Linked DNA regions of Homo sapiens: regions 1, 2 and 4 are each linked to region 3. Evidence: promoter capture Hi-C in 16 types of primary human blood cells and fetal thymus (Javierre and others, 2016). All regions are on one chromosome and are shown on one strand. The core of a region is centred on a gene start or on the middle of the fragment in contact, and the rest is flanking DNA. Distances in the headings are between cores, read along the strand shown. Region 1 overlaps NDUFB6 (NADH:ubiquinone oxidoreductase subunit B6). Region 2 holds the start of ACO1 (aconitase 1). Region 3 holds the start of C9orf72 (C9orf72-SMCR8 complex subunit). Region 4 overlaps RIGI (RNA sensor RIG-I).

Region 1 (4,957 bases), core at 1,372-3,871, 5.0 Mb before region 3:
AAAGGAAGAAACACCTGAAGTTGGTGGTTGATTAAGTTGGGGATAAAACCAAAGTTCACAGTCATTTATGACTGCAAAATCTCTAGCCTTGGAAATTACAAGTAGGGTATTGGAAGGGAGGGCTTTCTGATGATGGGATAGAAGTGAATATTTTAGACTGGGTGTGGTGGCTCATGCTTGTAATCCTGGCACTTTGGGAGGCTGAGGCGGGTGGATTGCTTGAGCTCAGAGGTTCGAGACCAGCCTGGGCAACATGGTGAAACCCCATCTCTACTAAAATACAAAAAAATTAGCTGGGCTTGGTGGCATGTGCCTGTAATCCCAGCTACTCAGAAGGCTGAGGCAGAAGAATTGCTGGAAACCAGGAGGCAGAAGTTGCAGTGAGTCGAGATTGGGCCACCGCACTCTCCAGCCTGAGCGATATAACGAGACTCTGTCTCAAAAAAAAAAAAAGAAAATAGTGAATTTTTTAGGAGCGTGTGCTGCCATGGCAGTTTTGGAGATGTCCAAGTGGACATGGCCTGTCTTATGTGTTAGAAACATGAGATTGTTAGTTCTAAGAGGAATTAGAGTTGGGTTAGGGGATTTTCACATTACAAACCAACACAAACTCTCTCTACAACTATTAAAAAGGGCTAACAATTTGTATATCTAAGGGTGAGAGAATAGTTTGTATTTCTGTTGTTGATGGGCTTTAAAAAAGTTTATGTTCATAAAAAGGCTACTTCATTTCATTATACATCTGTTATGTTTTCACTATTTTGGCATGTAAGACCCTAGAGAAGAAAATATATTACTTTCTGTCAGTGAAAGTTTAACATCCAAGAGTGATTTTTATGTGCAGAAAGAACTGGTTACAGTGACTTAAAATCCAGATTAATGTATGGTTCTTGAGTTTCAAATATAAAAACATATTTTTTTCCTAATTCTTTAAATTCAGTTTTAAAATTCTATTAAACTATGCATCTAGTAAAATAAGAATAATCTCCTTTGTTTTTACTATCTTTGGATTAATTGAAGTTGAACTCTTCTGAAACAATTCCATTTACAAACATAGCTAAATTCTGTTAAATATTTTAAATTGTATTTATACATTTTGTGTGTTCAATTTTATTTCGAAGTATTTATATGGTAAATTTATGATTCTAAGAAGTAATTTTTTTCAACCTAGAATCACAAATCAATTATGCATTTTAACTAGAATCCTAAACCTAATTTTTTAAAACCTCTGTTAGCCAGATTATCTTACACATTACAAACTCTGATCAACAGAATGTATGGAATGTAGCAATGTTTTCAGAACTTTTAAAAGTTGACACATTCACTTATTTATACTCTGGGTTTAACTTACTTTATCATATCTAAATTTAACTACATTTTTCTGGGATCGAAAAGACATTTCTAAGAGAAGCAAATTTAACAAACTGCAGTCACTAGGTTGACAATTTAATACAGTAATGTGGTTGCTTATCTGAGGGTTCACACTTCCAGGTGATTTTTCCTGAGCCATAGATGGACATATTTAGTTAAACATTTTGTGTCAGTAGAGGTCCCAGAGCCACTCACTTACCTTACTTTTTCTCTTGATTTTGGTAGGTAAAGGATTGCATCTTCAATAAGATTGCAACCAGTTTGCTTCAGCTCACTCCTTTGCTGCCTAATTGAATTCTGCATCTCTCAGATGACTTTTCAGTGTCTTTTTGCCTTTTAGCACGTAAAGACATTTTAAAGTGCTCACATTGTATTCTGAGTTTCTCTCATGTTCCAGTTCTCTATGCCTCATATCATGCCAATAATCTTTTAAATTTTGGGCAGTGGTATCTTGTGCAGATGTATATGCATAAAAAGTACATGTATTCAACAATTACTTATGTAGTACCTCTTATGTGCAAGGCATTGTTTTAAAGACCAGGATACAGCAGTGAACAGAGCAGATTGAGTCCCTCCCCTCATGAAATGTTTAGTTTTAGAGACTGGTAATAAATATATAAACAAAGAGGTATATTAATGTTATAGGAGAACAAGTCTATAGAAGAAAAATTAAGCAGGGTAAAAACTAGAGAATGATAAGGCTTGCTATTTTAATTAGGCCTCTCTGAGGAAGTGATCTTTGAAGACAAACATAAATGAAATGAAGATACAGGTCAAGCAGTATTTAGGAGAAGAGCATTTCAGGTAGAGGAATCATGAAGTACAGAGGCCTTGAGGCACAAGCAGGCTTGACTGAATTGGACTCCTAGGAATGGAGCCACTGTGGCTGTAGTAGAGTAAGTGAGGGAGAAAAGACTGGCTTTTTCTCTAAGAATTATGAAACTTTGAGCAGAGTGACATATCTTAAAAGAATCAGTGTACTCTGCCTTGAAGTGTGGAGAATAGACTTTTCATTTGCATAGGAGGGCACAAGTGGAAGCAGGGAGGCTAGTAGGTGCTGTTGTGGTAGTTGAGGTGAAAATATGATAGAGGCTTGGACAAGGCTGGTGATGAGAACCAGTTGGATTCAGGGTATATTCTTAAGATAGAATTAACAGGCTCTGCTGAGGAGTCAAGGTTTCTGTCTTTCATAACTGGGGGAATAAGAGTGTCATTTACTGAGATGGGGGACATGGGGAGGAACAGTTTGGGGATGGGAGAAGTTAAGTGTGGGACCTGGTTAAGTTTGAGATGCCTGTTTGATAGCTAAGTAGAGATGTTGAGTAAACAGTTGGATATGTGAATCTGGAGTTCTGTGAAAGTTTGGAGCTTAAGTTAAAATTTGGGGTATGACCTATTTCTTATTTTCAGAAGAAACTCTTAACACCATAATTAACACAGAGTTAACTTTTATTACAGGAAAAACCATATGGCATAGTTGAAAAGAAGTCCAGAATATTCCCTGTAAGTCTTAACACTTCTGATTTTTCTTTTGTTTATTGTTTTTCTCTTTCCTTTTCCTCCCTTTCCAAGCAATTATTAGATTAAAATGTTCTTTCCTTCTCACTTTCGGTTTAAGTCCCTGTTTTGTGTATTCTTGTAAAAAACAAAACAAAACAAAAAAAAACAGGAAGAAATACCGTGAGGTAACAATTACAGTTCAAATGGGAAGTGAGCACATTTATTTTCAACCTGGCTGTAAAACGTGTTTTGTGACCTTGATTTTCCTAAAGGGAGTTGAAAGTACCAAAAGTTTTTCACTGTGTCCTGTTTCATGTTGGGTAAAGAGCTTAGGGCATGAGCCTAAGCAAACATCCATGCATGGTGACAGCAACTGAATTTCTGTTATTAATTCCAAACTCTCATGTCCTATGGCTTTGTACCTCATTTTCAAGATTTGACCTTAAGTTCTCCATCTGTGAATTTAATATCCACTAATGGGTGTTTTAAATTTTATACTATGGGCCAGGCACAGTGGCTCATGCCTGTAATCCCAGCACTTTGGGAGGCCAAGATGGGTGGATCGTGAGGTCAGGAGATCGAGACCATTCTGGCTAACACGGTGAAACCCCGTCTCTACTGAAAATACAAAAAATTAGCTGGGCGTGGTGGCGGGCGCCTGTAGTCCCAGCTACTCGAGAGGCTGAGGCAGGAGAATGGCGTGAACCTGGGAGGTGGAGCTTGCAGTGAGCCGAGGTTGCGCCACTGCACTCCAGCCTGGGTGACAGAGCGAGACTCCGTCTCAAAAAAAAAAAATGTATACTATGAATGTGTGAGCTATAGTACTAATTTGAAATGAGTTATTTTAGCATTAAAAGGTGACTCAGTAGTCAGTTGGTATTTACTAGCTGTTTGTGAGGTTATTGTTTAGCATAGTAGAATACATACTATGTTCTTGTCTATTTCTAGTCACAGATAATGAACTATCATAACTCAAAAGTACACAATTTAAATAACAAAAGTGTGATTCTTGCTTTAATCAAATGACTTAGTCACAGTAATGATTATCTGTTGCAACAGGGGAATTTTAGGAAGGGCCACCAAAACTGGCCAGCGGTCCCAGTTGGAACGCTGGTTTAAGAAATAGTTGGGGGAGGGGCCAGGCGCGGTGGCTCACGCGTGTAATCCCAGCACTTTGGGAGGCCAAGGTGGGTGGATCACAAGGTCAGAACTTCGAGACCAGCCTGGCCAACATGGTGAAACCCCGTCTCTACTAAAAATACAAAAATTACCGTGCGTGGTGGCGGGCACCTGTAATCCCAGCTACTGAGGATGCTGAGGCAGGAAAATTGCTTGAAACTGGAAGGCGGAGGTTGCAGTGAGCTGAGATCGTGGCACTGCACTCCAGCCTCAGAAATGAGTGAAACTCCATCTCAAAAAAAAAGGAAAAAGGAAAAAAAAAAGTAGGGGGTATCGGGGGCTCATGCCTGTAATTACAGCACTATGGGAAGCCGAGGTGGGTGGATCCCTTGAGGCTAGGGGTTCGAGACCAGCCTGGCCAACATGGTGAAACACCATCTGTACTAAAAAAAAAATACAAAAATTAGCCAGGTGTGGTGGTGCACGCCTGTAATCCCAGCTACCTGGAGGCTGAGGCACAAGAATTGCTTGAACCTGGAAGGCAGAAGTTGCAGTGTGCGGAGTTTGCGCCACTGCACTCCAGCCTGGGTCACAGAGTGAGACTCTGTCTCGGGAAAAAAAAAAAAAAAAAGTGGGGGCCAGGCGCGGTGGCTAACACCTGTAATGCCAGCACTTTGGGAGGCAGAGGCAGGTGGATCACCTGAGGTCAGGATTTTGAGACCAGCCTGGCCAACATGGTGAAACTCCATCTCTACTATTAATAAAAATACAAAAATTAGCTGGGCATGGTGGTGCACGCCTGTAATCCTAGCTACCGGGGAGGCTGAGGCACAAGAATTGCCTGAACCTGGGAGGCAGAGGTTGCAGTGAGCCAAGATTGCGCCACTGCACTCCAGCCTTAGCGACAGAGCACCCTGCCTCAAAAAAAAAAAAAAAAAAAAAAAAAAGTAGGGGATTTCTCCTTTTG
Region 2 (4,697 bases), core at 817-3,316, 4.8 Mb before region 3:
TTTCCTTCTCCTGTGGACTTCTCCTCCTCCTCACCTGTGGACTGTGCAACACACACAACACGCTCATGTGCATGCAACATTTCTCAAGTATCGGCTGTAGCATTTAAACTGATCCATCAGAGCACAAGAGGCTCTATGGATGAAGGAACAAAAGGGAGGATGGAGTTAGAAAATTTCTTCCTCCCAAATATATACACATAACATCTGTCTTGAACTTGTTCTGACAAGGCACGAAGCTAAGGAAAGAGTCCCGTGAAGGACCTCACCTACCACACTCCAGGATGGTGGAAACTGCTTTTTGACAGGGGCTGAGGAAGCACCACTCAGAGTGACACCCTCTGAAAGTGGAAAGTGAAAGAACGTCAAGACTGGAAATCATTATTCCAATAAACTCAAGGCTAATAACCATGCAACTGCAAACAGAAATGAACACGTGCAAGGGAAGGCAAAAGCATGCCTCCTTGTTCTTTTGGAAATAACTTCCTGACTACTTGGTAACTCTCACAGGAACCCCTACACACTTGGCATGGTCTCCCCACTGGCACTTTTGTGAGCCTACAGGTCCTGTTTGCCACATCACTGTTGTAATCCTGATGCACAGACAGGTCAGCTCTGCAAGCACAGAGACAACCAAAGGCATGTGCGAAGCCTTGCTGACTTTTCAGGAGGCTGGCAAGGTTCATCACAGCCTCACGTGGGGACCTAGTACATGGTTTCCAAAGTGAGATCAAACTTGGTTCCAGATACCAGAGGTTAATACTGTCCATGGCATGAGGTGGTGTGTGTTCCCAATCAGAGGAAGGATCACAAACAAGAAGCAGGCCCAATGAATGAAGCCTCTGAAGCATTTCCTACACCAGCATCCTCAAAGTGTGGTGCAGAGAACTCCTAGGGATCTCCAAAGTCAAAACCATTTTCCTAGTAATAAAATGTTACTTGCTTTTTTTCATTCACACATTTTCAGGAGTATACAGTGGAGGTCTCAAGAGGCTACATGATATGTGATATTGCAACAGACTGCAGAAGCAGCTATCAGAATCCAGCTGTCTTCAATTACGCTTGACATCAAAGAGATTTGCAAAAATGTAAAACAATGCCACTCTTCTCAATCATTTTCTGTTTTGGGAAATATAGTTCTTTTTCATAAAAATAGGCAATGTTAAGATATAATTAGTTCACTATTCTTTTTAAATGAATTATTATAGTACAAATTTCTCAGTCTTACTTACATATTATAAATATGGATAGATATAACACACATAAAAGCTCCTTAAGATACTAATTTTTAAGAGTGTAAAGGAGTACTGAGTACCAGAAAAGTTTGGGGACTTCTGTCCTAGAGGTTGTCCCCCAGGGAAGAGAGTTACATGTGTTGCAAGAAGGAAGATGCCATTATGATGTGCTAGCTGAATCTAGAAAAAAATGACTTGGTCATAACTGCAGCCCAAGCTCCTTTCTAGATCTCTGAATCTATCATGGTGGGCTCTGTGTTCAAGCCTCCCACGAAGGGTCTCTTCCCCCTCATCCCATTTTCCCTTTACCCCTTGGAGTGGATTCCCGGATCTGCCCGCACAACTTTAGCAAGGGTTTCCCTATCCAGCCAGCCGGGCCTGGGCGAGGACTCCCAGTGCGGGCCTCACACCCTCGGGGTTAGGACTCCCAGGACTGGCCGCACACCCTAGGCAAGGACTTTCAGGACAGCACGCACAGCCAAGGCTAAGAAGGGTCTAGGAAAGCCACTTCCAATCCCTGGTTTCTCTCCCCGGCATGACATAGACTGGGGACAGGGTGGAGACGTCAGTCGCCAGAAACACGTCCCCGATTCTCCTCTCAGCCTCCCCAAGCTCGCCTCCGTGTCCCCCGTGCCGCCACTGCCTCGGGCACCTCGGTAAAGGCCCGCACCGACTCTCGAGGGATACAGGGTGGACGGCGCTCCCGCCTGGGGACGTGGGTCGGGCCGCGTCGGTACTCACCTCCGACTGCACGGCGGGGCTCCCGCGACCGGCGAACCTGACCCAAGCAGCGGGACGCGTTCCCGTGCGCTGCGCGGTTCCAGCTGCCGCCTCCACGCTCCGCCCCCTCTCGCCCCCGGGGCCGCCGCGCGATGGGCGGAGCAGGGGCGGGAAGGGCGGAGCAGGGGCGGGACGGACGGGCAGCTAGCCGAAGAAGGGGCGGAGCCTGCGGGCGCCCCCGCGGGCCTGGAGGACTTCGCCCCGGGCTGGAGGCTAGGGTTGCGAAGGGCTCCTCCGCTGGAAGTGGGAGGGCTGATCCCTCGGCCCGGGTCCGCTTCTGCCAGCATGGGACCTGGGACGAGGGTGTCTGTTGCTCACTTTGGAGCTTAGCATGTGACTCCCCAGCCGGCGTTAGGAAGTGACCAAAGGGTGGGGAAGAAATGGAATTATTTTTAAAAAATGATTTGGCCATAACTGGAGAGGCTTCATGTACGTGTGGTCACTTGGCCCGCCTCCCTTCTCACTTTGTCCGTCCCCACCCTACCCACCCTCTCCACCCTCGCCTTAATTCTTTGCGCAAAGCCTGCCAAGTGGACATCGGAGTCACGCTGTCAGAATAGGACTTCAGCATTTCCGTGGCAAAAGTTCTATATGTAGATTTCCTTGGACATGTAACAACACTTTCTAATGCACGATGTTCACCGGTCTGAAGTCGGAGAAATGGCTGGGAGATGGCAGCAAGTGGGCTTTCACAAGATCTGCTTTTCATGTTGGTAGGAGTTGTGCCCTCTTGGGTGAATGGCGTTCAAAGAAGTGATTAGATCTTTCTAGATGAAAGGTGGTGAGGTTTTCCTGCCCAAATTATTTGGAAAGTTACTGTAGTTTTCTGAATAAGCAGCTTATAGGATGAGTAAACAATAGCCAGTACTAATAGCCCCCCTGCTACTTTATACTGCCCTCCTATTCTGCACAAAGCCCTGTGATCGACTCTTTCCACGTTATTCAGTTCAGCTCTTCCAACCACCTTACAAGTAAAGAATATTACCCGTCTTTGCAGGTGTGCAATGCGCAACAGCTGAGACTCAGTCCTTAGGTTGGTTTGACACCAAAGCCTACACCTTCCCTGTCATACTGCACTATAGGGTACAACTATCGTCTAGTTATATTTAACTTTGAAATATAAATACTTATATTTATTTTGAAAGGGGAAGTAACTGTATTTCCAATATGAGAGGAGACTGTTTTCCCACCCACTTCCTAAATCCTTTCCATTCACATTAGTAATTAAATTTTCTTTGAATGTCCACCATATGGCAGAGGTGCACCACAATCCCTGAAAAATCATGCTCCAGTCCCCTTGGGAGGTAGGGAGAGTAGGGGCAAGGTGAGAGTGAGTAGAAGGCTGGGGAAGTCCGATGAGGACACATCCAGCTAAATTGCGATTCTTAATGAGGCAGCCATTCGGAAAGCAAAGTATCTAATGTTCAATGATAACATCCGTGTAACTGAGAATCCTTCGCAGAAAACAATCAAATCAGAGCTATGAAGGGAATTGAGATTTATTAGTAAGCACGCTGGTCAAAACCGTGAAGGAAATAGTTCCACATCCCCCCAGTCTGTTGCTCTTGGACGTTGTCACCAGTGACGTGCAGATCGTGAATCCCAGGGCCTGTCCTCTGTTCCTGTCCTTACTCACTACTCTGTGGTATTTGACACTGGCGATTCGTTTTCCTAGAAATGTTAACCTCCTTTTGGCTTTTCAGCCCTCCGCTCTTAGGAGTCACCTCTTCCCTCTTTTGTCCCTCTTTTTTAAGGTCTTTCCCTACACTCTCTCCTCTTGCTTTATATGTTTCTCCATTTGCTGAGTTTTTCTTCATCTATTTTCTCAGTATGCAGACTGCCTGCCACTTCTAGCTGAAGCCTGCTATGTCTCTGTCATTGGTCTTAGTTAACTTTCTGACCTTCACACTCTTGATTTGCAGCCATATGTGGCAACCCCACCTGGATATTCCAAAGGTGTCTGTATTAGACCGTTCTCACGCTGCTGTAAAGAACCCTGAGACTGGGTAATTCATAGGGAAGGAGGTTTAATTGGCTCACAGTTCTGCATGCTGGGGAGGCTTCAGGAAGCTTACAATTATGGCAGAAGGGGAAGCAGGTATGTCTTACCTGGCAGCAGGCAAGAGAGTGTCCTCTGAATGCACAGTGGTCCTCCTGAATGCTTTGAGGGGACCTTAGAATCCCTAAATTTTTCACTGAATATATGTCTTCATACCAGAGAAAATTTGAAATAAACGTTTTGTTCCTCTTTAAGAAAAAAAGAGTTAAATTCATAACAAGGAGAGGCAGGTCTTAGCCTCATCTTGGCTCCCGGTAAATATCCAACGGCTCTCCCCTGATGCCCTCTTCCCACCACACCTGCTATACGTTTAATTTTCGTGCTCTCTTAATTACTGCCTAAGGGCCTGATCCCTGAGCTGCCTTCCCAGGGAACAAGAATCCTCTGGGCAGCTGCTTACAGTTTCTCTCAGTATAGCTAATAATAAAAATCATCCCCATGATCCAATCACCTCCTTCCCTCCACAGGTGGGGATTACAAACCATATCAGTGCCTGTCATTCATCACATCTAAAATGGGAATTTAGTGTCTTCTCTAACCATCTGTCTCTCCCCTCCTATCCATTTAGTTTCTTTTTCATCCTAATCCTGCATCCCGAATTTGTATTTCATGATCTGCTGAGAAAG
Region 3 (4,450 bases), core at 1,487-3,986:
TGCAGCCTGGAAAAGCTGCAAGCACTCAATGCTAGCCCATGAGAGCAGCTGTGGGAGATGAACCCTGGAAAACCACAGGGGTGGTTCTGCCCAAGGTTTTGGGAGCCCACTCATTGCATCAGTGTTCCCTGGGTGTGAGTCAAAGGAGATTATTTCAGAGCTTTAACATTTAATGACTGCCCGGCTGGCTTTCAGACTTGCAATGGGGCCCTATAGCCTCTTTCTTTTGGCAGATTTCTCCCTTTCGGAATGGCAGTATCTGCCCAATGCCTATACCCCCATTGTATCTTTGAAGCAATTACCTTGTTTTTGATTTTACAGGTTCATAGGTAGAAGGGACTAGCTTCGTCTCAGGTGAGACTTGGGACTTTGGACTTTTGAATGAATGCTGGATCGAGTTAAGACTTTGGGGAACTGTTGGTAAGGCACGACAGTATTTTGCAATATGAGAAGGACATTAGATTTGGGAGGGGCCAGAGTTGGAATAACATGGTTTGGATCTCTGTCCCCACCCAAATCTCATGTTCAACTGTAATCCCCAGTGTTGGAGGTTGGGCCTGGTGGGAGGTGAGTGGATTATGGGGTGGCTTCTAATGGTTTTGTACAGTCCCCTCTTGGTACTATATAGTGAGTTCTGACAAGATCTAGTTGTTTAAACGTATGTAGCACCTCCCATTTCTCTCTTCCCCCAGTTCCTGCCATGTGAAGTCTGGGGTCTCCCTATGCCTTCCATCATGATTTTAAGTTCCCTATGGCCTGCCCAGAAGCTGATCCAGCCATGCTTCTTGTACAGCCTGCAGAACTGTGAGCCATTAAACTTTTCTTTATAAATTACCCAGTTTCAGTTATTTCTTTATAGCAGTGTAAGAATGGACTAACACAATTATTAACGCTAGTCCTCATGTTGTACATTAAATCTCTAGATGTATTAGACGTAACTGCAACTTTGTACCCTACCCTACAATTTTCTTTCCCCCCAAGCCCCCCAACCAAGGGTCTACTCTGTTTCTATAAATTCAGTTGTTTTTTAATTCCACGTATAAGTGAAGTACAACTCAGTGTAGAAACTTGGTAAATGCTAGCTACTTGTTATAAGCTGTCAGTCAAAATAAAAATACAGAGATGAATCTCTAAATTAAGTGATTTATTTGGGAAGAAAGAATTGCAATTAGGGCATACATGTAGATCAGATGGTCTTCGGTATATCCACACAACAAAGAAAAGGGGGAGGTTTTGTTAAAAAAGAGAAATGTTACATAGTGCTCTTTGAGAAAATTCATTGGCACTATTAAGGATCTGAGGAGCTGGTGAGTTTCAACTGGTGAGTGATGGTGGTAGATAAAATTAGAGCTGCAGCAGGTCATTTTAGCAACTATTAGATAAAACTGGTCTCAGGTCACAACGGGCAGTTGCAGCAGCTGGACTTGGAGAGAATTACACTGTGGGAGCAGTGTCATTTGTCCTAAGTGCTTTTCTACCCCCTACCCCCACTATTTTAGTTGGGTATAAAAAGAATGACCCAATTTGTATGATCAACTTTCACAAAGCATAGAACAGTAGGAAAAGGGTCTGTTTCTGCAGAAGGTGTAGACGTTGAGAGCCATTTTGTGTATTTATTCCTCCCTTTCTTCCTCGGTGAATGATTAAAACGTTCTGTGTGATTTTTAGTGATGAAAAAGATTAAATGCTACTCACTGTAGTAAGTGCCATCTCACACTTGCAGATCAAAAGGCACACAGTTTAAAAAACCTTTGTTTTTTTACACATCTGAGTGGTGTAAATGCTACTCATCTGTAGTAAGTGGAATCTATACACCTGCAGACCAAAAGACGCAAGGTTTCAAAAATCTTTGTGTTTTTTACACATCAAACAGAATGGTACGTTTTTCAAAAGTTAAAAAAAAACAACTCATCCACATATTGCAACTAGCAAAAATGACATTCCCCAGTGTGAAAATCATGCTTGAGAGAATTCTTACATGTAAAGGCAAAATTGCGATGACTTTGCAGGGGACCGTGGGATTCCCGCCCGCAGTGCCGGAGCTGTCCCCTACCAGGGTTTGCAGTGGAGTTTTGAATGCACTTAACAGTGTCTTACGGTAAAAACAAAATTTCATCCACCAATTATGTGTTGAGCGCCCACTGCCTACCAAGCACAAACAAAACCATTCAAAACCACGAAATCGTCTTCACTTTCTCCAGATCCAGCAGCCTCCCCTATTAAGGTTCGCACACGCTATTGCGCCAACGCTCCTCCAGAGCGGGTCTTAAGATAAAAGAACAGGACAAGTTGCCCCGCCCCATTTCGCTAGCCTCGTGAGAAAACGTCATCGCACATAGAAAACAGACAGACGTAACCTACGGTGTCCCGCTAGGAAAGAGAGGTGCGTCAAACAGCGACAAGTTCCGCCCACGTAAAAGATGACGCTTGGTGTGTCAGCCGTCCCTGCTGCCCGGTTGCTTCTCTTTTGGGGGCGGGGTCTAGCAAGAGCAGGTGTGGGTTTAGGAGGTGTGTGTTTTTGTTTTTCCCACCCTCTCTCCCCACTACTTGCTCTCACAGTACTCGCTGAGGGTGAACAAGAAAAGACCTGATAAAGATTAACCAGAAGAAAACAAGGAGGGAAACAACCGCAGCCTGTAGCAAGCTCTGGAACTCAGGAGTCGCGCGCTAGGGGCCGGGGCCGGGGCCGGGGCGTGGTCGGGGCGGGCCCGGGGGCGGGCCCGGGGCGGGGCTGCGGTTGCGGTGCCTGCGCCCGCGGCGGCGGAGGCGCAGGCGGTGGCGAGTGGGTGAGTGAGGAGGCGGCATCCTGGCGGGTGGCTGTTTGGGGTTCGGCTGCCGGGAAGAGGCGCGGGTAGAAGCGGGGGCTCTCCTCAGAGCTCGACGCATTTTTACTTTCCCTCTCATTTCTCTGACCGAAGCTGGGTGTCGGGCTTTCGCCTCTAGCGACTGGTGGAATTGCCTGCATCCGGGCCCCGGGCTTCCCGGCGGCGGCGGCGGCGGCGGCGGCGCAGGGACAAGGGATGGGGATCTGGCCTCTTCCTTGCTTTCCCGCCCTCAGTACCCGAGCTGTCTCCTTCCCGGGGACCCGCTGGGAGCGCTGCCGCTGCGGGCTCGAGAAAAGGGAGCCTCGGGTACTGAGAGGCCTCGCCTGGGGGAAGGCCGGAGGGTGGGCGGCGCGCGGCTTCTGCGGACCAAGTCGGGGTTCGCTAGGAACCCGAGACGGTCCCTGCCGGCGAGGAGATCATGCGGGATGAGATGGGGGTGTGGAGACGCCTGCACAATTTCAGCCCAAGCTTCTAGAGAGTGGTGATGACTTGCATATGAGGGCAGCAATGCAAGTCGGTGTGCTCCCCATTCTGTGGGACATGACCTGGTTGCTTCACAGCTCCGAGATGACACAGACTTGCTTAAAGGAAGTGACTATTGTGACTTGGGCATCACTTGACTGATGGTAATCAGTTGTCTAAAGAAGTGCACAGATTACATGTCCGTGTGCTCATTGGGTCTATCTGGCCGCGTTGAACACCACCAGGCTTTGTATTCAGAAACAGGAGGGAGGTCCTGCACTTTCCCAGGAGGGGTGGCCCTTTCAGATGCAATCGAGATTGTTAGGCTCTGGGAGAGTAGTTGCCTGGTTGTGGCAGTTGGTAAATTTCTATTCAAACAGTTGCCATGCACCAGTTGTTCACAACAAGGGTACGTAATCTGTCTGGCATTACTTCTACTTTTGTACAAAGGATCAAAAAAAAAAAAGATACTGTTAAGATATGATTTTTCTCAGACTTTGGGAAACTTTTAACATAATCTGTGAATATCACAGAAACAAGACTATCATATAGGGGATATTAATAACCTGGAGTCAGAATACTTGAAATACGGTGTCATTTGACACGGGCATTGTTGTCACCACCTCTGCCAAGGCCTGCCACTTTAGGAAAACCCTGAATCAGTTGGAAACTGCTACATGCTGATAGTACATCTGAAACAAGAACGAGAGTAATTACCACATTCCAGATTGTTCACTAAGCCAGCATTTACCTGCTCCAGGAAAAAATTACAAGCACCTTATGAAGTTGATAAAATATTTTGTTTGGCTATGTTGGCACTCCACAATTTGCTTTCAGAGAAACAAAGTAAACCAAGGAGGACTTCTGTTTTTCAAGTCTGCCCTCGGGTTCTATTCTACGTTAATTAGATAGTTCCCAGGAGGACTAGGTTAGCCTACCTATTGTCTGAGAAACTTGGAACTGTGAGAAATGGCCAGATAGTGATATGAACTTCACCTTCCAGTCTTCCCTGATGTTGAAGATTGAGAAAGTGTTGTGAACTTTCTGGTACTGTAAACAGTTCACTGTCCTTGAAGTGGTCCTGGGCAGCTCCTGTTGTGGAAAGTGGACGGTTTAGGATCCTGCTTCTCTTTGGGCTGGGAGAAAATAAACAGCATGGTTAC
Region 4 (4,802 bases), core at 108-2,607, 4.9 Mb before region 3:
TAACTAGGTGTTGGAAAATGGACTCTGGAGGGGTAAGGAAGCAATCATGATAAATGAGGGGCCTGGTGTCTCATTGTCTGGATGTGATGGTCTGATGAGTTTCAGTTCTTTTATACCTTTTGAGAGGCCTGGGGGTCCTTTTCCTGGGGAAGGAACTCAGATAAAACAAATATAAGTTTCAGCTTTAAGATCAGGAGGGTCAATTTCCATGTTTATTCGAAAGAATTGTATATGGGACTATTGTGTTGGTTTCAGTCCCCCTCTTTCTATTTATCAATTCCTGGATCATGGGGAATCTGATCCTCAATCTTTCTGGCAGCTTCATGCTGAGGAATGGCGTGGTGGGCAGTTCCATACTATGGGTGACCACGTGGCCATCCAGGAATCAAAAGTTAATCTAATACTATAGTTTTCTTCTGAGACACAATCTGTATCATTACTGTTCCCCGCTTCCACCAAAGACATATCACAGCTGGATGGGCCTACCTGCAAAATAAGCCTCAGTTACATATACTTGGCTTATTTACCCACACAAAGTGCAGCAAAAATTATTGTCCATATGGGCTCTCCTAATTGGCTTTGCTGGAACCTCTCACAAGGCCATTTCAGTCAAAGCCCTGGGAAAATAACTTGTTCCTCCAACTGTGTCCCCTTATAAAAGAAAACAGATTTTTATTAAATGTATGCAAGAAAACACATTGCCATGAACTAAGAATATTCACAAATAGTTTATAAATTCTGGAGAAATTAGGGAGAGAGAAAATGCCTCAAATTCTGTTTAAAAGGGTATACTCTACTTAATATACTGTATTCTTAAAGGTTATGAAGAGCTTAAAAGAAAAAATTCTCCAGATTCCAAAAAACAAAAATTCTCCAGACTTTTTCAAACAAAACCATAAAAAATTATTTCAGTCCCACATTAGTTCAGTCCATGCAATCAACTCCTGCTGTGTTTCATATTGGGTTAGTAATCTTTATAAACATGTCAGCCTTTTAATTAAGAGGGACTCTAATTAAGAGTCCTAGAAGTTTTCTGTATTCCAGTGGCACAGTCTCCAAAGTTATCAGAAATCTGCATTCAAGACTCCTTTTCATGAAGTCCCCTAAATAAACAAGCTCTGGACTATATCTGATTATAAGTCACTTTTTGAAAAGAATCAATGCAAAACAACAATTGCAATGACAAAAGTCTTAGGAGAGCCATAAAGACACAGTTGACAAGGAAATTTTTTTTTCTGTTGGCATACAACAATTTAACATAATAATCATCATTACTGACACCATATATTAAGACATATCAGAATTTTAGGAATCTCATATAGTCCTGCAACACATATTAATAGCACATCTATACAAATATAACCCAAAGGAAGTTAAATACCACCTCACATTTGATAATGCTGCCTGTATAATTCTAATATACCAAAGAAGCCTAACATGTCTGTCTGTATTGGAATTCAAGGAAGCTAATACACAAAAAAGTTAGTTTGAGGTTAAAAAAAACCCCCTGAATTTAGAACTTGAAATATTTGCTGTTGGGAAGTCTGTCAGTATCAAAGATTTAAGACACTTGATATCACAAAATAGGATCACAGGTCGCTACAAAATAGTTATTCATTTAGCCAAAAAGATAAAACAAACACATTTACCCTTTGATAGGCGACTCAGTTTCCCAACAATAAGGCCTAATAAAGACAGCATGAGGCCAACTAAATGTCTCTCCCTCTTCCTTTTCTTCCCCCCACAGTTCACTCAAAAGGTAAACAAATATTTTATGTCAATATTATACAAACATTTTATTCAAAAGAGAACATCAAATTTTACCTTTGTATGGTATATTTTTAATGTTAAAGCTAATTTTAATAAAACCTTATAAGCCGAATTTTAATCAGTTTGACTATAAGATAGGATTTCTGTGAAGTTTTTTTTTTTTTTTTTTTTTTTGAGATGGTGTCTGGCTCTGTTGCCCAGGCTACAGTGGTGCGATCTTGGCTCACTGCAACCTCTGCCTCCTGGGTTCAAGCAATTCTCCTGCCTCAACCTCCCTAGTAGCTGGGATTACAGGCCATGCCACCACACTTGGCTAATTTTTGTATTTTTAGTAGAGACGGGGTTTCACCATGTTGGCCAGGCTGGTCTCCAACTCGTGGCCTCAGCTGATCCGCCTGCCTCGGCCTCCCAAAGTGCTGGGATTACAGGCGTGAGCCACCACACCCGGCCTGAGTCACCAGCCCCGGCCTGAGCCACCACGCCCAGCCTGAGCCACCACACCCAGCCATCTTTTTATAACGTTTTACGATTTCCTATTAAAGAGTAGAGTAATGCTCCAAGAAAACCCTGTTATGACACAGGGGCCCAGACATTGGCCTTGCATCAGTGTGCTTTTGATGTTAATGTTTAATTTATAGAAAAACCCTGAACTAATTTTATAACTCAAAATCAGCCCTTACAAGCTCACGTGCTCACCTTTTGTGCAATAGTTCCTGGGCGTAGAGGGATTGAATGGTTTTAATTTCTAGCCCTATGTCTCATGAAAGCAGTTCATTTTGATTGTCACCTTCTCCTGAGTCTGAAGACGAGGCTTCATTTGGTGTCAGTGCTCAAGATTTAGCAGGTATTGGTGTCTTTTTTGGATCCAGGAGTCAAAGGCCTTTGAATTACTAAATAATTGTTTCCTAAGAATTATTTAATAGCATATTTATACTGCAGGAAACCTCATCATTCTCTCTAATATGTCACAAAATAAAACCCTGGGATTTGGTGCCTAGTAGTTACTGTCTGAAACACTTCAACCCATTATACAATCCATTGTATTAAAGTGGTTAGGTTACTCCTTGCATTTATCTGCTAGCATTCTAGTGACAAAACTGTGACCTAGAGCCTCAAAAATGTGGTAAGTCCTGTGCCAAACTTACCAAAGTAAGATAGTTAACTTTTCTTTCCATCATTAAAAAAAAAAATGGTAAATGCAAGTATCAGTTTTGGAAATTCAATATGAAGATAAATCTTTCATTTAAAAAGTATACAACAAAACAAGGACAAAGTGACAATAAGCACACAGTAATTTCTTTTCAGCTATTTTGAAAGAGCCTCATCATACATTTCCAAGATTGGTTTCTAGATAAAGTACTGACAACTGATTTAAGTGACTTACACCACTAGAATCTTCAAACTGGCATAACACTTGTATGTACATATTTTGTTTTCAAGTATACATGTGAAGGCCCATCAGTGATAAATGGCTTAGGATAAAAAAAACACTAGAAAGTCTTATAATTTTTTTTATGACTTAATCCAAGTAAATGTTATTTAATCTTAATAATAGTAAACACAACTAAATTAGTTTGAGAGAAAGCCCAATCAATATAATTTCCTTAAAGACAAAGCCAATTTTTTTCTGAATATTAAGACTTTGTACCCATATAGCAGTTTTGCCTCATTAAAGGAAAAGATCTGAAACCGCTATTGTTTATTGAATTGAATTACCTTGGAAATAAACACCACTTAAACATTTCTCTCACCTACTTTTCCAAATAACCAATAATAATGTACTATTTCTGTTCAGAACTTAGAAGAATAAACCTTTTATTATTTTTTGCCAGGAATCTTAAAGTTCTTATAGCTCTCTAGTTCATTAGAGGTAAGCAAAACCAAACAAATTTTAAAGGCTGGTGTCCACCAACAATTTTTGGAAGCTTGAAAAAGGTAGCTTAGGAACTTTGGATAAGTAGAGCAAATGATGAGATACTGGAAATGCATAGGAAACAAAATGATTATTCATGGAACCAAATAAAAGCCTTCCTTACATTAGAAACTAAAAGCCATCAATGGTTTTATTAATATGTATATATAAGTAAAACCTAAAGAAGAAGAAACAGCAAATAAATGCAAATTAAAAGAAAAAACAAACAGGAAACCAACCTGAAAATTTTCTACTCAGTTTAACTTGGAGGCTATAGTGTTACCCAGAGCCAAAAAAACACATGATGAATATTTTGTTCCTGATGCACAATTTAATGTCTTTAAGTTCACCAATACCACTATATATTTTGTGCAATTAAGAAATTCACTTTAGGCTGGGCGTGGTGGCTCAGGCCTGTAATCTCAGCACTTTGGGAGGCCAAGATGGGTGAATCACTTGAGGCCAGGAGTTTGAGACCAGCCTGGCCAACATGGTAAAACCCCATCTCTACTAAAAATACAAAAATTGGCCAGGCATGATGGCACACAACTATAATCCCAGCTACTCTGGAGGAGGCCGACCAGTAAGTATTATACTGTAATGATAGTATATCTATGCAGAAGAGCAAATACAGTGTGAAGCAATGCAAGCATGTAGGTGAAATTTGGTTGTTGCTATATCTGGCTTTTATCTGGCTTCATGGTTAACTATATTAAGAAAGGATTGCCAAACTGCCAATGTGTTTCTTTACAATATTTCTTATTTTACTTTCATCAAGACTAAGAGCTTTAACTATGAGCAGTGTTAATTAGCCAGATTTCTCCAATATTCTATCTGGTTTTAAGAGAATATTATTTAAGCCTTTTATACTTTGTATTTTCTCTGTCTGTACATAAAGGTAGACACACAAAGAAATAGGAAAGAAACTACATGACTTACACACACCATCTATGATATGCTTAGACTTTCTGATTTGTCCTGGATTTTCGTTCTTTTTCTTCTTCTTTTTTTTTTTTTAAACAGTCATTTTACTTTAGGACAAAAAAAATACCATTATAAGATGCTTTGTCATACAAAATTATTTTCTTTATAACCTTCCTTACCAAAAATACATCTTTAT

The links. Contacts are between HindIII fragments. The CHiCAGO score rates a contact against its expected background, and 5 or more counts as called.
Region 1: a fragment that was not itself captured here is called in contact with the fragment with the promoter of C9orf72 in region 3 in 7 of 17 cell types (naive CD4 T cells, activated CD4 T cells, naive CD8 T cells and 4 more); the score reaches 21.0 in naive CD4 T cells.
Region 2: a contact is called between the fragment with the promoter of ACO1 here and the fragment with the promoter of C9orf72 in region 3, in 5 of 17 cell types (non-activated CD4 T cells, total CD4 T cells, activated CD4 T cells and 2 more). The highest score is 14.3, in non-activated CD4 T cells.
Region 4: a contact is called between a fragment that was not itself captured here and the fragment with the promoter of C9orf72 in region 3, in 2 of 17 cell types (naive CD4 T cells and activated CD4 T cells). The highest score is 8.2, in naive CD4 T cells.

The regions. Positions count from the first base shown.
Region 1 is chr9:32,556,827-32,561,783 of GRCh38, reverse strand. It overlaps NDUFB6 (NADH:ubiquinone oxidoreductase subunit B6), which reads left to right. Exons shown (of 4, transcript NM_002493.5): 3 at 2,830-2,874. It also overlaps a transcript of SMIM27 not described here. Among named protein-coding and RNA genes, the nearest start is that of TOPORS, 6.7 kb to the right of the region's middle. The HindIII fragment of the contact is 5,670 bases long and covers 1-4,957 here.
Region 2 is chr9:32,382,012-32,386,708 of GRCh38, reverse strand. It overlaps ACO1 (aconitase 1), which reads right to left and starts at 2,066. Exons shown (of 21, transcript NM_002197.3): 1 at 1,974-2,066. RefSeq lists a silencer at 1,886-2,265. The HindIII fragment of the contact is 14,350 bases long and covers 1-4,084 here.
Region 3 is chr9:27,571,767-27,576,216 of GRCh38, reverse strand. It overlaps C9orf72 (C9orf72-SMCR8 complex subunit), which reads left to right and starts at 2,736. Exons shown (of 11, transcript NM_018325.5): 1 at 2,736-2,786. RefSeq lists enhancers at 2,127-2,654, 3,253-3,342 and a silencer at 2,663-2,742. The HindIII fragment of the contact is 3,790 bases long and covers 1-3,295 here.
Region 4 is chr9:32,518,282-32,523,083 of GRCh38, reverse strand. All of the region lies in intron 1 of RIGI (RNA sensor RIG-I), which reads left to right. Among named protein-coding and RNA genes, the nearest start is that of RIGI, 5.5 kb to the left of the region's middle. The HindIII fragment of the contact is 4,681 bases long and covers 1-3,697 here.